2 separate regions of the Homo sapiens genome follow, and region 2 is linked to region 1. The links are contacts of gene promoters, found by promoter capture Hi-C in human tissues and cell types (Jung and others, 2019). All regions are on one chromosome and are shown on one strand. Each heading gives the region's core, a stretch centred on a gene start or on the middle of the fragment in contact. The rest is flanking DNA. Distances are from core to core; before and after follow the strand shown.

Region 1 (6,872 bases), core at 2,055-4,554:
AAGAAATCGGAATTTTCTTGATAGTATACAACCAAAACAGAAGATGCAGAAATAAACTGGATACTGAGTCTGCTGTAACTGCAACTATGTTGAAGTTAAAATAAAGATATAGAGATTAATCTCTAAATTTAACAGCTTTCTGCGGAAAAAAATTGCAATTTGGTATATACACACAGACCAGGTGGTCTTCAATATGTCTGAAGAGCAAAGAGAAGGTTGGAGCTTTTATAAAACAGAAAAATGTTACATAGTGCTCTTTGAGAAAGTTCATTGGCACTAGTAAGGTTCTGAGGGGCTGGCAAGCTCCAATAGGTGAGGGATGGCAGTGGGAAGAATTAGTCCTAGAGTTGCAGCAAGTTATCTCAGCAGTTACAGATAAAACTGGTCTCAGGTCACAACAGGCAGTTTCAGCAGGGGGACTTGCAAAGAATCACATTTCTTTTTTTTTTTTTCTTTTTTTTTTTTGAGACGGAGTCTCGCTCTGTCGCCCAGGCTGGAGTGCAGTGGCGCGATCTCGGCTCACTGCAAGCTCCGCCTCCCGGGTTCACGCCATTCTCCTGCCTCAGCCTCCCGAGTAGCTGGGGCTACAGGCGCCCGCTACCACGCCCGGCTAATTTTTTGTATTTTTAGTAGAGACAGGGTTTCACCGTGTTAGCCAGGATGGTCTTGATCTCCTGACCTCGTGATCCGCCCGCCTCAGCCTCCCAAAGTGCTAGGATTACAGGCGTGAGTCACTGGACCCGGCCGAGAACTACATTTCTAAAGTAATGTCATATGTCCTGAGTGCTTTCTCCCCCTGGCTTTTCCACTGTTTTAGCTGGGGATAAGAACAACTCAATTCAAAGGATCCACTTTCACAACCACAACCCCCAGCTTCAACATTTTGCAAGCAACAGGATCAAGAGTCCTGTGGCAGTGGGGCCAGCAATGGCATGCTCGCCAGACTAGTTCCTGTTGGTCTTATCTATGTCTTTGCTGTTCGGACTCTCCTCGTTCCTTCCCATTTTCTGAGCCTGGTTCTCTAGACTTCTTGTTTACTATTTGGGCTACCTAATTTTCCTCCAATGAATCCCCTTTCTGCTCAAAACAAAAGAAAATCCAAGACAACAACACACTGAAGTTTCATTGTTTTGTTTTTTATCTATAAAGTTAATATAAAAAATTTGAACTTACAGTTGGACATGGTGGCTTCTGTAATCCCAACGACTCAAGAGGCTGAAGTGAGAGACTGGCTTGAGTTCTGGACCAGCTTAAGCAACATAGTGAGAACCCACGCCTAAAAAATAAGTAAAATAAAAAGTTAAAAAAAGTTTGAACTTATGCTTAGTAATAAAGCATAAGTTATTTTTGTTTTTTTTGTTTTTTTTTGAGACGGAGTCTCGCTCTGTCGCTCAGGCTGGAGTGCAGTGGCACGATCTCAGCTCACTGCAACCTCTGCCTCCTGGGTTTAAGTGATTCTCCTGCCTCAGCCTCCCGAGTAGCTGGGACTACAGGCATGTGCCACCACGCCCGGCTAATTTTTCTATTTTTAGCAGACACAGGGTTTCGCCATGTTGGCCAGGCTGGTCTCGGACTCCTGACCTCAGATGATCCACTGGCCTCGGCCTCCCAAAGTGCTGGGATTACAGGCGTGAGCCACCGTGCCCGGCCTAAAGCATAAGTTTTAACCAACTTTATATGTTGGGGACCTTCAACAGATTTCGTTTGAAAAAGGACTCCACTCTTTTTCAAAATTTAATTTGGTCAGGTGCAGAAGCTCACACCTGTAATCCCACCACTTTGGGAGGCCGAGGCGGGCGGATCACTTGAGCCCAAGTGTTCAAGACCAGCCTGGGCAACATGGCAAAATTCCACCTCTACAAAAAATACCAAAAAAAGCAGCCGAGTGTAGGTGGCACACACCTGCAGTCCCAGCTACTTGGGAGGCTGAGGGTGGGAGGATCTCTTGAGCCCAGGAGGCAGAAGTTGCAGTGAGCCGAGATCGAGCAGCTGCACTCCAGCCTAGACAACAGTGAGATCCTTTCTAAAAAAAAGAAAAGAAAAAGAAATTCTATAAAGTTCAAGTTCTATAAGGTAAAGTTCAACTTCAAATTCTGTAAGGTAAAGTTCAAGATTCGGCATATGTTGGTGGGTGCTCAATGTTCAATAAAAACTGGGGAATAGGCCTGGTGCAGTGGCTCACGCCTGTAATCCCAGCACTTTGGGAGGCCGAGGCAGGTGGATCACGAGGTCATGAGTTTGAGACCAGCCTGGCCAACATGGTGAAACCCCGTCTCTATTAAAAATACAAAAATTAGCCAGGCGTGGTGGTGCACGCCTGTAATCCCAGCCACTCGGGAGGCTGAGGCAGGAAAATCACTTGAACCTGGGAGGCAGAGGTTGCAGTGAGCTGAGATTGCACCACTGCACTCCAGCCTGGGCAACAGAGTGAGACTCCGTCTCAAAAAAACAAAACAAAACAAAACAAAAAACTGGGGAATATAAAATTTCGCCATACTATCCTACATCCCCCTTGAGTTTTTAGCAACGATAGTAATTGTTATATGATGCTTAACGCGTAATTACTGTACCTCATTTACATAAGGTGGTTTCAGACACATCATCTTGTTTATGTATGGCCTCTCCAAACAAAATGAGTTTAGGACAAAAGAGGAAATCCTTTTCTAAAAGCAGTTTTGTCCGTAAGTTACTGCCTCAAGAGGCCGCAAAGTTTGAGCAAAGCTTTTCCGAAAGTAATGGATTGGTAATGGGTGACTGAGGTCCACAAAGCTCGATAAGAGGCTCCTGGTCCGTCTACCAGGTTCTTAGAGGGAGGTGCCTTTGTGTGTTCGGACGCTGCACTGAGACACGTGAGGTTTTTAAATAAACTTTTGATTTTGAAATCTCTGGGACTAATTTTAAACAGTGAACCCGACAGCGAGGACCTACACACAAAAGTGCTCCCGGCCTTACCAAACAACGCAGACCCGGGGTCACGCCTCGTCCTGTTTCAACAACAACACCCAAGGGCTTCCCTGGAGCCCAGGGCGTGGGAGGGAGACTTGGGTTTGAGTTCTGCACCTTGCGGAGGTGGTTAGTTATTTAATTGTCTTCCACCTGAATTTTCCTCAGGCCCAAATTGATGAGACCTCCCCGAATCCCTCCCCTGCCCGAGTTACTAATGACGGCGTGAGGTCACACCTGGCCACTCAAAACCAGCTCCTTGACGCAGGTGACCCTCCGCCTCGCGCAGCTCACGCTTCCCATCCCCCGGACTCCACCCCCAGCGGGAGGCCACGGGGCCGCTGTGCGCACGCGCCGCCGCACACCGGGGGCTCTCGGGCACCCGCGCGGCGCCGGTTGGCCTTCCCGGCGCTCGCCCGGGGGCGCGCTTGCGCGCCAGCGGCTGCGGACACCAGCCTGCGTCCCCGGCGCGGCGGGCCATGGAGGCCCTGAGGAGGGCCCACGAGGTCGCGCTCCGCCTGCTGCTGTGTAGGCCGTGGGCCTCGCGCGCCGCCGCCCGCCCCAAGCCCAGCGCCTCGGAGGTGCTGACGCGGCATCTGCTGCAGCGGCGCCTGCCGCACTGGACCTCCTTCTGCGTGCCCTACAGCGCCGTCCGCAACGACCAGTTCGGCCTCTCGCACTTCAACTGGCCGGTGCAGGGCGCCAACTACCACGTCCTGCGCACCGGCTGCTTCCCCTTCATCAAGTACCACTGCTCCAAGGCTCCCTGGCAGGACCTGGCCCGGCAGAACCGCTTCTTCACGGCGCTCAAGGTCGTCAACCTCGGTGAGTGGCGACTGCCGCGCCCACGCGGTGAAGCCCGCCCGGCCGGGACGGCCCCTCAGCCACCGAGCACGTGACGAACGCTCGCAGGCCGGTAGAGTCCCGCGGGAGTCAGCTCTGCCTCCCGGCGCCGGCTTCGCCTGGGGTCCTTTGTACTCCTCGCCCAGGGGGTCCCCAGCTTGCTGAGCTCCTGGCACCCGAAGCCGTTCGCCTGCTGCGGGCGCGTCCTCGGGCCTAGGGAGGGGCGGGTCGCCCTCCTGTCCTGCCCATGTTAACCAGAGTAGACCCCTGGCCTGGGCAGTAAGCCAGGGGGCGTCAGGAAACGCCCCCTAGAAAGTGGCTCTGAAGTTGACATCCGTCCTACTGCATGGCAGGACTCATTCCCGTGAACATCACTTTGCAGCTGCGTTTATGTTGCAATAACTGGAACTACTCTTTTAAGTTTCTTTTGTTTTCTTTGTATGAATTCCCGGCAAGTTCGTTTTACTAAAAGCACCAAAGGTTTTCACCAGACATAACAGCTTCCTGAGGTGCTAGGCCTAAAAGATTTTTAAAGATCTTTAATATTTGTATATTTTCATGGAGACGCCCTGAGGATGTTTACTGTCACTAGGTGTTTATTTTCTTTTGGTTTAATGACAGAAGAGGGAGGTACGAACATGGACATGGGTGTATCTTTTATAGGTCAGGGGAAAACAGAAGGCCTCAAGATGTTTTGAACTTACTAATAGCTGGCATAAAATCAATCTAGATTTCAGTGATTCAAAATCTAGCCATGGAGCTGAATGAACCATGTTACCCAGCCAGGTTTTTAAAGCCAGGATTAAAACTAAACCCTGCGCAGCCGTACTACTAATACTATTACATAATCTGATCGTCCATTAAGGTTAAAAATAGTCTGTGTATTTGTGCTTATAATAACACATATGTCAGTCGTGGGCTTTTTGAGCCGTTACTCCACTGGACTGTCCTGTAAGGAGATAATTGTTTAGCAACGTGTTATCCTTTAAAAATGCCTCTTATTATTTGGCTGATGGACTGTATAGAGCATGCCCACTACTTTGGAGGTTGGTTGAAGTTGAAGGGTGAGGTGACTTAGGAAATTCAATTCGAAATTATTTGGAAAGACTGGAGTGTTAACTAGATTCGAGAAGTATAAGTTTATTTTAGCATTTTTCATAAGTAAGAAATCATTCTTCCCTAAAGAATAATAGGTTAGGAAAAGCATAACGGGAGAGTTATAGGTAAACCATGAGCCAAATGCCTTTTTTTCCTTTAAAGTCACATTTTTAGTGTTGACATTTTGTTTAAGAGCACCTTAATGATTAGGGGCCTCTCTTTTAGATTTAGAGATTAAGACATCCAAAAAAAGTGGATACTCAGAACATTCCACACATAGAAAAGTAAAACCTTTTAAAGTTGAAAGAAACAACAGTTGTAGTGTTTTTTGTTTTGTTTTGTTTATTAATGTGGGAGAGTGATTTAATGGTCTGTATGGTCTTTTGGACATTCTAAAAATCCTGCTAAAATGGGAGTAAGAGTTCTAAGTTAAGCAAAAAGGACAACTTTTTGCTCATGCATGCTTTAATACAAATTGGGATATACTGATAAAGGGAATTAAAAAATATTTTAAAGTGGTGAACACATCTGGTAACGTTTATTTTTAATTTTTGTCTGAAGGTAGAGGGGATGTGAATTAGATAATAGGTCCTTTCCTATTCTGTGAGGTACAATCGTCTCTCTGGGTGATAAAGTACATATCCTATTAATATTATACTTAGGATTTTGTTCCTCTTCTTCCCTTCCAAATTCATTTTTCCATTTTGTAAATAATAAAGATTTCTGTTTACCCATTTGCTCCTTTTCTCCTCCGTCTTCCCTTCAATGGAAGCTGACATTTTACTGATGGTTTACCAGTCTAGGTATCCTGCTGAGAAGTAGATTGAGATTTAAGAAAAGCAACTTACCATTGGAATGAATGAGATTTACTGAGGAATTCTAATTTTTTAAAGTGCTTAATTTGACAGTGGTTTACCTACTGTTCAGCTGACTCAAAGTGAATTATTATGCAAAGAACTGATTTGGAGGTTCTTTTGATGTTACATGTTTCAGATATAAATTTAATTTTTCAGAAAAAATTGAATTTTTCATAGAATCTTATAGACTTCAAAGCATGTGTGCTACAAAGATTTTGTAATATATAAGTTATATAGGTGGCAAACCTTCCCATTTTGAGTATTAGTCTGACTGCATTAAATAAACAGACAGCAAGGGGAAAAAAATACAGAATTTCTGACTCAGATCATAACTCCATCTCCTGTCAAACAGCATCACTGCTAATGGTTGCTGGTTATTTTTTAATAAGACATAATATAGTTATTAAGCTAGTAATCTTTGATCAGCCCTTGATTTTAGCTGAAAATATATTGACCGTTTATTTCTGTATTTGTGATTTTTCAAAAGTATGAATTTTTTAAATCAATATGTTAACTGAAAACTATGATAAATACTATAAAAGAAAATTGTCAGTGTCACCAGGTATTCCTTAAATTTATATACTTAGCCTTGGTTTAAGAGGCCTATTTTATGTATTTTAGTCTCAGTATGCTTAGAAAATTAGTAATTGCTTCTAGAGCCTATTTTTTTTCTTCCTCACTCCATTGATTTTCAGCTTTGAAGTTGTGATATTGCATTTTAAATTTATTTTTTATTTCAACTACTCCCTATACTTCACTCTCATTTCTGCCTAGCTTGTTCATATTCTTCTTTTTCTACCTCCCACCCCTGAGCCACTTGCCTTTTTTTTTCTTTGTGGTTAAATGATTTATAAGTAGCTTTATTATTCTAGTTTTTGTGGATTTTTTTATGACATTCCCTTGAGGTATTCAGAGATTCTTTTGGACATTATCAGGGCAAAGAAGGTGATACACTATAAAAGGTTTCATGGGAGTTCCAGGGAACCCTGTGATGGTGACAAACTGTGACCCAGTATATTCCTAAAAATAGAGAGATGCCAGCCTGAATGGGCATTTTTTTCCCCTTCTCATTACCAGCTAGTGATGTGATGCTTCTCCTGATTAATCTCTGGCATCACAGTGGCTGGAATG
Region 2 (6,872 bases), core at 2,102-4,601, 81 kb after region 1:
CCAATTGTTCTGGCATGTCTTTCATTACTTCACTGACCCTAAATATAATAATTAGCTGATTGTAAAGGGCATCAGTCTGGTTGTACTACAATTAAATTGGGTGCTGGATTGGCCTTTACACATTAATCTGTCAATATTCTTTTAAGGATTGGTAAAATGGCTTGGAAAAGAAGCTGTTTCTGTTACCTGCATTGTACTCCTAATTATCACAGCTCTCTGAAGCTTCAACTTCAGAAATGTGTAGAAGGAAAATATTTCCCTTGGTAAATGAACCCTTGCTTTATTCAATTGGTGGAAGTTTAGAGTAGAGCAAAATATTTAAAGCTTTGCTATACTGGTCTGAGAGCAAACTATTTTTTTTCCAAGTGATATTGAATTAAAAACTCCATCCATTTTCTGCCCATGCAAGGCAGTGCAATTCCCTGGAAATTGATTTTTTTTTTTTTCAGGGCTTGCAGTGGCTTTCCCCAAGCTTTAGCTATATGGAAAAGAACACCTTTATTAAATCCACTTAGTGAATAAAGTTGGCAGTTAATTTTTAAGCATCTGGACCAGTGTGTAGAAAATTACTGAATGCATCAAATAAAGTCTGACTAGTCTTAAAGTCATTTGATAAATAATTGTATAGGGAGCTCTCTAAACTCTAAAACATTATTTTATGGGCACCTACTATTCATAATACAAATGAGAGTAGTTATTTGTGGTATAATAGGTTTTATAGAACCTTGAAAAACATGCAAACTTATATATAAAGTTACGAAAATGACTTTAATAAAAATTACATGCCTATGTATTTTTCCTTTATGTATTATAATATTCGACTATATGTGCATCTTAAGTGCATTGATTTCGTGCTTTTCCATCTTCATAATATGATTTCTGCCTAATTATTGCTGTATACTAGTTTGTTATTTGCAAAGAAAAGCTATATCTACTCTAGGAAAATCATAAACATTATTTAGTTTGTTAAATGTTAATTATGGGGGTCATCTGAGGAGTTTTCTAGGGCTGATTTATTTACAGATCATGCATTAGATTACTGAGTGTGTGTGTGTATTGTCTTCCTAAGTTTGACTTTGGTTATGTGCAGTGCTCTTTGGCATTGGTTATATGCAGTACTGGAGACTGTTTTCTTATCAGTATCTCTGACCTGACCCTTTTGAGCTATGTTGTATCATTCCATTTTGACACCTTTTATCAAACTTTAATGAAATGACCCAGGCAAACAAATTGTCATTAAACTTTCCATCACTTCGTCCCTTGGTATCGTCTTTTATAAATTGGACAGCAAACGTTGTATTGATCTTCTCGTTTTTGCAGCTGAACTTGAAATGACCCAGACTGCTTGTTGTTTATGGCCCAGAGTTGCTTTTCCTTGACATTTCCATCCACAGCATGACACCCTTTTTGTTTTTCTTTCTTTCTTGTGGAGATGAATGAACAAGACATACGATATCGGGACACTCTTGGTCATGGCAACGGAGGCACAGTCTACAAGTGAGTAGTCAATTTTGTTTAAACTTTCTATCCGCTTTTCCAAATACTGAGTATCCAAGTTCTCTGTGGCAAAGATTTTTAAATGACCACTAACACTTAGATTTTATTTCCATATTTGACTCCAAAATTCTGCAAGACATCTATTTTCTCAAGAATTGCCTGGAAAGTGCATTTATATTGCCTTTTTAATATTTCCGAGTCTGCAACTCTCCTGGGTGTGTAGTTAATAGTCCACCATTAGTAAGTGTACCTTTAACTGGCCTGAAGTTTAATGCATTTTTTTCCTTTGCTTTTTAACACTATTATTATTATTTTTTAACTTGCTAGTACCCTACGCTAGTCCCCTGCCTGTTTACAGTTATGCCCAGTGGAAGCCAGACCTTATAAATACCATTGCTTTGCCCTGTGTCAACACTATAAGTTATTAAAAAGCCTTCTTCCTGTTGTATTTTCTTCTCTCCTCACCCTACTCCCCTGAGATAATTTCTACACATTGATGAATATGTTAAGTTATAAAGTTCTCCCAAATTCCAGTTGCAGTGATCTTACCCCAAAGGAATGTTCATTTTCATCTTAAAAAATGCTAGCCATAAAAAATAGTTCTCCGACAGGGAGGTCTTCTCATGCAGTAGTGCAAAGTTTAAACTACATAATGTAATATCTGGTACTTAATAGTCTGCAATGGTGTATGAAAAATATTCCACTAGGAATTAAAAAATCCATACTCTGTAAGAAAGCCCTGAGGGAATAATAAAACTTTCCTCCAGAGAGCTGGTTTTCCATGTATACACTAATCCTGCATCACATTATGGTTGTGATATTAGATCACAACCACAGATACTTTAACATTGATATTAATATGTATTTCCAGAGTTGTAAAATAATTAACTTATTTTCTAATTGGTTACCCATGTTCTTAGAATTTTAAGTTCTGACTAACCACATGAATACACATAAAAATTGCCCTATTCTATGACCATGAAGGTTCACATCCTAAAAATCCCAGAACATCCCCTACTCATTGATGCAGCCTTGGTATAGAATTTGATTTCTCAGGCTTAGAAGCTCTTTTGAAGTAATCTGATCCAGTCACCCATTCAGGGCTTCAGTGCCCTTTGCAGATACAGCCAAGATGTGAGTCCTTTCTCCTGAATATAGTCCTTTAAGAACTTATGTTCACATGTTTGGATTGTTTTTTCCTGCAGATGACTGAGTATTGTGAACAGTTGGTCTGAAAATGAAGTTCTTCCACTATGATAATTCAGAGAAATAAATAATAACATGTTTCTTACATGTTCCTTGGGCCTTGGGCCTGGCCCTTAAAATTGAGGTCCAATGTGTCTAATGATTTTTGCGGCTACTATTCTCTTTCCCTGGATCATACTAGCGTTCCTTCCCACGCAACCTCCACTATAAACGGTATCTTTTCATCTTAGTCTTCTCTTCCTTACGATCTGACTTAGATTTTTCCTGTGTTCTGAAGGTACTTAAGTTCAGGTACCCATAGAAAGGAAAGAGGAAGAAGGAACATGTATACTCTGATTTGCTTCTATTGAGTTCCCTGGAGGGAGCACTTTTCAAAGCTTGAACCTTTCTTCTTAATGCCTTTATGCTGATAGCCAAATATAATAAAACAGGAAAGATTTCTGGCAACTCTTTGTATTCCTTTTATTTGCTTCAAATGGAATTTAAAAATGTTTATTTAGACTCCTAACCTACTTATCTGTGTTATTTCACCAAACCTTTAGTTTTATATTAATTGAAGGTCTATTGTGAATTTATTTTCCTAGCTTATTTCTAGAAGGGAAGAAGCATAAGACCATGAAACCCCAGCAGAATTTTTACGAGACATAATATTCTAGATGTTGACATTTTAATCCTTTATTTTAAAACATAGGCTTGTTTGTTTGTTGGTTGGTTTGTTTATTTTGAGATGGAGTCTCGCTCTGTTGCCCAGGCTGGAGTGCAGTGGCACGATCTCAGCTCAGTGCAACCTCTGCCTCCCAGGATTCTCCTGCCTCAGCCTCCCAAGCAGTTGGGATTACAGGCGTACGCCACCATGCCCAGCTAATTTTTGTATTTTTAGTAGAGATGGGGTTTCACTATATTGGCCAGACTGGTCTCGAGCTCCTGACCTCGTGATTCACCTGCCTTGGCCTCCCAAAGTGCTGGGATTACAGGAGTGAGCCACCAGACCTGGCCAGGTTTATTTTTTAAAAGAGGGAGTATACAGAGAAGTGGAAAAAACATGCCCATCCCCCAAGGGAAAATTACAACATGAAATTATGTTAATGTTGTTTTTAAAATTGTTATTTTAAATTGTGGTGAAATACACATAACTCAAGTTAACATTTTAACCATATTTAAGTGTATAGTTAGTGGCATTAAGTACATTCACATTGTTGGCAACTGTTAACACCATTCATCCACAGAACTCTTCGTCTTGTGTAATCGAAACTCTGCACCCATTAAACAGTAACTCCCCCATCACTCTGTTAATGTTGTTTTTAGCTAAGAAGCATGGCTAGAACTTCTCCTTTAATTAGGGCTACTATGTCAAAGGGACCATTCTTCTATATGTCCTTGCCACAAGTTTTTTAATTTGCTAGAATGCTGTGTGTAACGTTAGGAATTTATCCTAAGAGCTCATTTAGCTACCGTTGCTAATGCTCACTGTGAGTGTTGTAAGATGTAATGTTTTTGACAGGATTGCTTATAGATGGTGAATGACAGTATCCTGATAATTTTCATTCTTATATAGTAGATTTCTTATAAAAAGAAATTTCATTTACCTTATTGCCTGTGTGATTCTTGAGAGGGGCGGTGAAGATACCAAATTGCATAACCGCTTGTCATTGATCATTGGGCATCATTTTTGCTCAGGCTTCAGCTTGTATTATTGTTCTTATATCCCTGGCTTTTAGTACAGTGCAAAGAAATGATATAATCATTGATAAATGAGGATCCACTTTACTAAAGTCTCTATAAAACTAAGTGTTTGATGTGTTATGATTGAGTTTCTTCTACACTAAGTTCACCTTAATGGTGTTGATGATAAAAAATATGGTTTTTCAAACAGCATGATTACATTATAGGCTATGCTACATAAACTAGATGAAGAAAATATTGGAAAATCCACTCATTGGTAACAAAACTGCCTAATAGGCTTATTCCATTTTTTTCTTTAAAGTGTAATAAAGCTAATAAGTGCAAAGCAAAAGTTTAATAATGCAGTCTTATTCACTTCACTTGATGGAATTTTGGGAATTTCAAGGGATATTATAATCGTGTAATTACAATGTATATGATTTAACAGTTGATACATTTTCCTCCTTTAAGTGTAGATATCCTTCACAGTTGTACAATATGAAATTCTGGCCCCAGACATTTAAACCAAATGGTAATGTGAATTCTGTGTGCTGTCTCCTGACGAGCTGTGCTCTATATTATGAGAGTGACTTAGGCAGGTAATTTTAAGTTGGTATTTCTTGGATTACTAATTTGGGCTACATGGAACATAAAGGAAATACCTTAAAGTATGGCCCAAGCCTAGGAAGAAGAAAAGTTTAGGAAAAGATAATGAATGTATTTTCCTTGTTGCCTCATTTCCTAAAGTGCTGCAAGTTGCTCCAAAAAAATAAATTCAGGAAAGACACATGTTCTATTTCCCTCTGAGAGATTCATAATGAATTTCAAAAACTTTGAGAAAGTAGAGAATAGTATGTGTTGTGGTTAAGTGTGAGGGCTCTAAGTTTGAATCCTGCCTCTGTCACTAATTAGCTACGTAACCTTTGGCAAGTTATATAATGTCTTATGCCTCAGTTTTCCCATCTGCAAGATGGGGATAATAATAGTATCTAGGTTGGGCGGGGTGCGGTGGCTCACGTCTGTAATCCCAGCACTTTGGGAGGCCGAGGCAGGTGGATCACGAGGTCAAGAGATTGAGACCATCCTGGCCAACATAGTGAAACCCCGACTCTACTAAAAATATAAAAATTAGCTGGGCATGGTGGTGGGCGCCTGTAGTCCCAGCTACTCGGGAGGCTGGGGCAGGAGAATAGCTTGAACCCGGGAGGTGGAGGTTGCAGTGAGCCGAGATTGTGGCACTGTACTCTAGCCTGGCAACAGAACAAGAAAAAAAAATTAATAGTATCTAGGTTGTTGTGAGGTTAAATGAGAAGATCCGTAAAAGGCTTAGCGCTATGACTGACACTTATTAAATGTTAACTACTGGTAATGGTAGTACTAATAATAGAAAAATTATTTACATTTTGTACTTCCTACCTTGACTTGGCCATGGGACTCTTTTCTTTTTTTTTTTTGAGACAGAGTCTCGCTCTGTCGCCAGGCTGGAGTGCAGTGGAAAGATCTCGTCTCACTGCAACCTCTGCCTCCCGGGTTCAAGTGATTCTCCTGCCTCAGCCTCCCTAGAGTAGCTGGGATTACAGGCATGTACCACCATGCCCAGCTAATTTTCTGTATTTTAGTAGGGATGGGGTTTCACCATGTTGGCCAGGATGGTCTGGATCTCCTGACGTCATGATCCACCTGCCTTGGCCTCCCAAAGTGCTGGGATTATAGGCGTGAATCACCACCCCCAGCCAGCCATGGGACTCTTTTTGATAAACATCTCACAGAATTATAGTTGTGTTGAACTAACTTTGAGAAATTCTGCCTTTATATTATACACATTATACTTCTGTATTTTCTTCTATTCTGTAGTTGCTTAATGAATCATGATATCTTATGTATTATCTTAAATACAATGATTTTTTAAAGTTTCAAAGTATTTTTAATCCTAATTTATTTTCAGATTGCTATAGGACAGCTGGGTTAAGCCCATTTTACCACTGAAAAAACTGGGGCTTATCATGTGGCCATTCAGCAGCAAAGCCAGATTTCTATACAGCATTTCTTTTCTTTTTGCTTGGTGTTCTTCCCCCAGGCAGTGTTGTCTCAAGGTCAAGCAGAGTCCATTTTGTTTTCTTGTGTTTTCTCATGTACCCAGCACAGTTTTAAGGATAAAATAGACCCTTGGTACGTCTTGGCTAAAATGAGAATGAGGCAAGTGGAGGTTTTAGTGGGGCTCTTTCATTGGATCTTCCTCATATCTAGCTACTTTGCGAGGCTGTACAATTGTTGTAGAACATTCACCTAGAAGAAAAAGAATATCCACACTGAGGAGATTGATATTCGAATGATTAACTTTCTTTAAAATGTTAAAACCTTCAGTGCTTAGTATCTGTTGACTCACTAGTTACTGTCTCTTTTTCTTGGGTAGTATGTCATATGGAAATAAAAGTAATTAACAGGCATAGTTACTTTGGAAACATTGTTTGATTCCAAAGCCAGTCTCTCAGACTCTGCTTCCTTGG

What was found. Contacts are between HindIII fragments. The study calls those that stand out against the background at their distance.
Region 2: a contact is called between a fragment that was not itself captured here and the fragment with the promoter of C15orf61 in region 1, in 5 of the 25 tissues and cell types used here (IMR-90 fibroblasts, bladder, liver and 2 more).

The regions. Positions count from the first base shown.
Region 1 is chr15:67,517,827-67,524,698 of GRCh38, forward strand. It overlaps C15orf61 (chromosome 15 open reading frame 61), which reads left to right and starts at 3,305. Exons shown (of 2, transcript NM_001143936.2): 1 at 3,305-3,768. The coding sequence starts at 3,423. It overlaps IQCH-AS1 (IQCH antisense RNA 1), which reads right to left and starts at 4,018. Exons shown (of 6, transcript NR_040052.1): 1 at 3,693-4,018; 2 at 1,174-1,276. RefSeq lists enhancers at 2,892-2,971, 3,612-3,731 and a silencer at 3,152-3,501. The HindIII fragment of the contact is 11,118 bases long and covers 1-6,872 here.
Region 2 is chr15:67,599,253-67,606,124 of GRCh38, forward strand. It overlaps MAP2K5 (mitogen-activated protein kinase kinase 5), which reads left to right. Exons shown (of 22, transcript NM_145160.3): 8 at 1,433-1,497. Among named protein-coding and RNA genes, the nearest start is that of MAP2K5, 60 kb to the left of the region's middle. The HindIII fragment of the contact is 8,159 bases long and covers 1-6,872 here.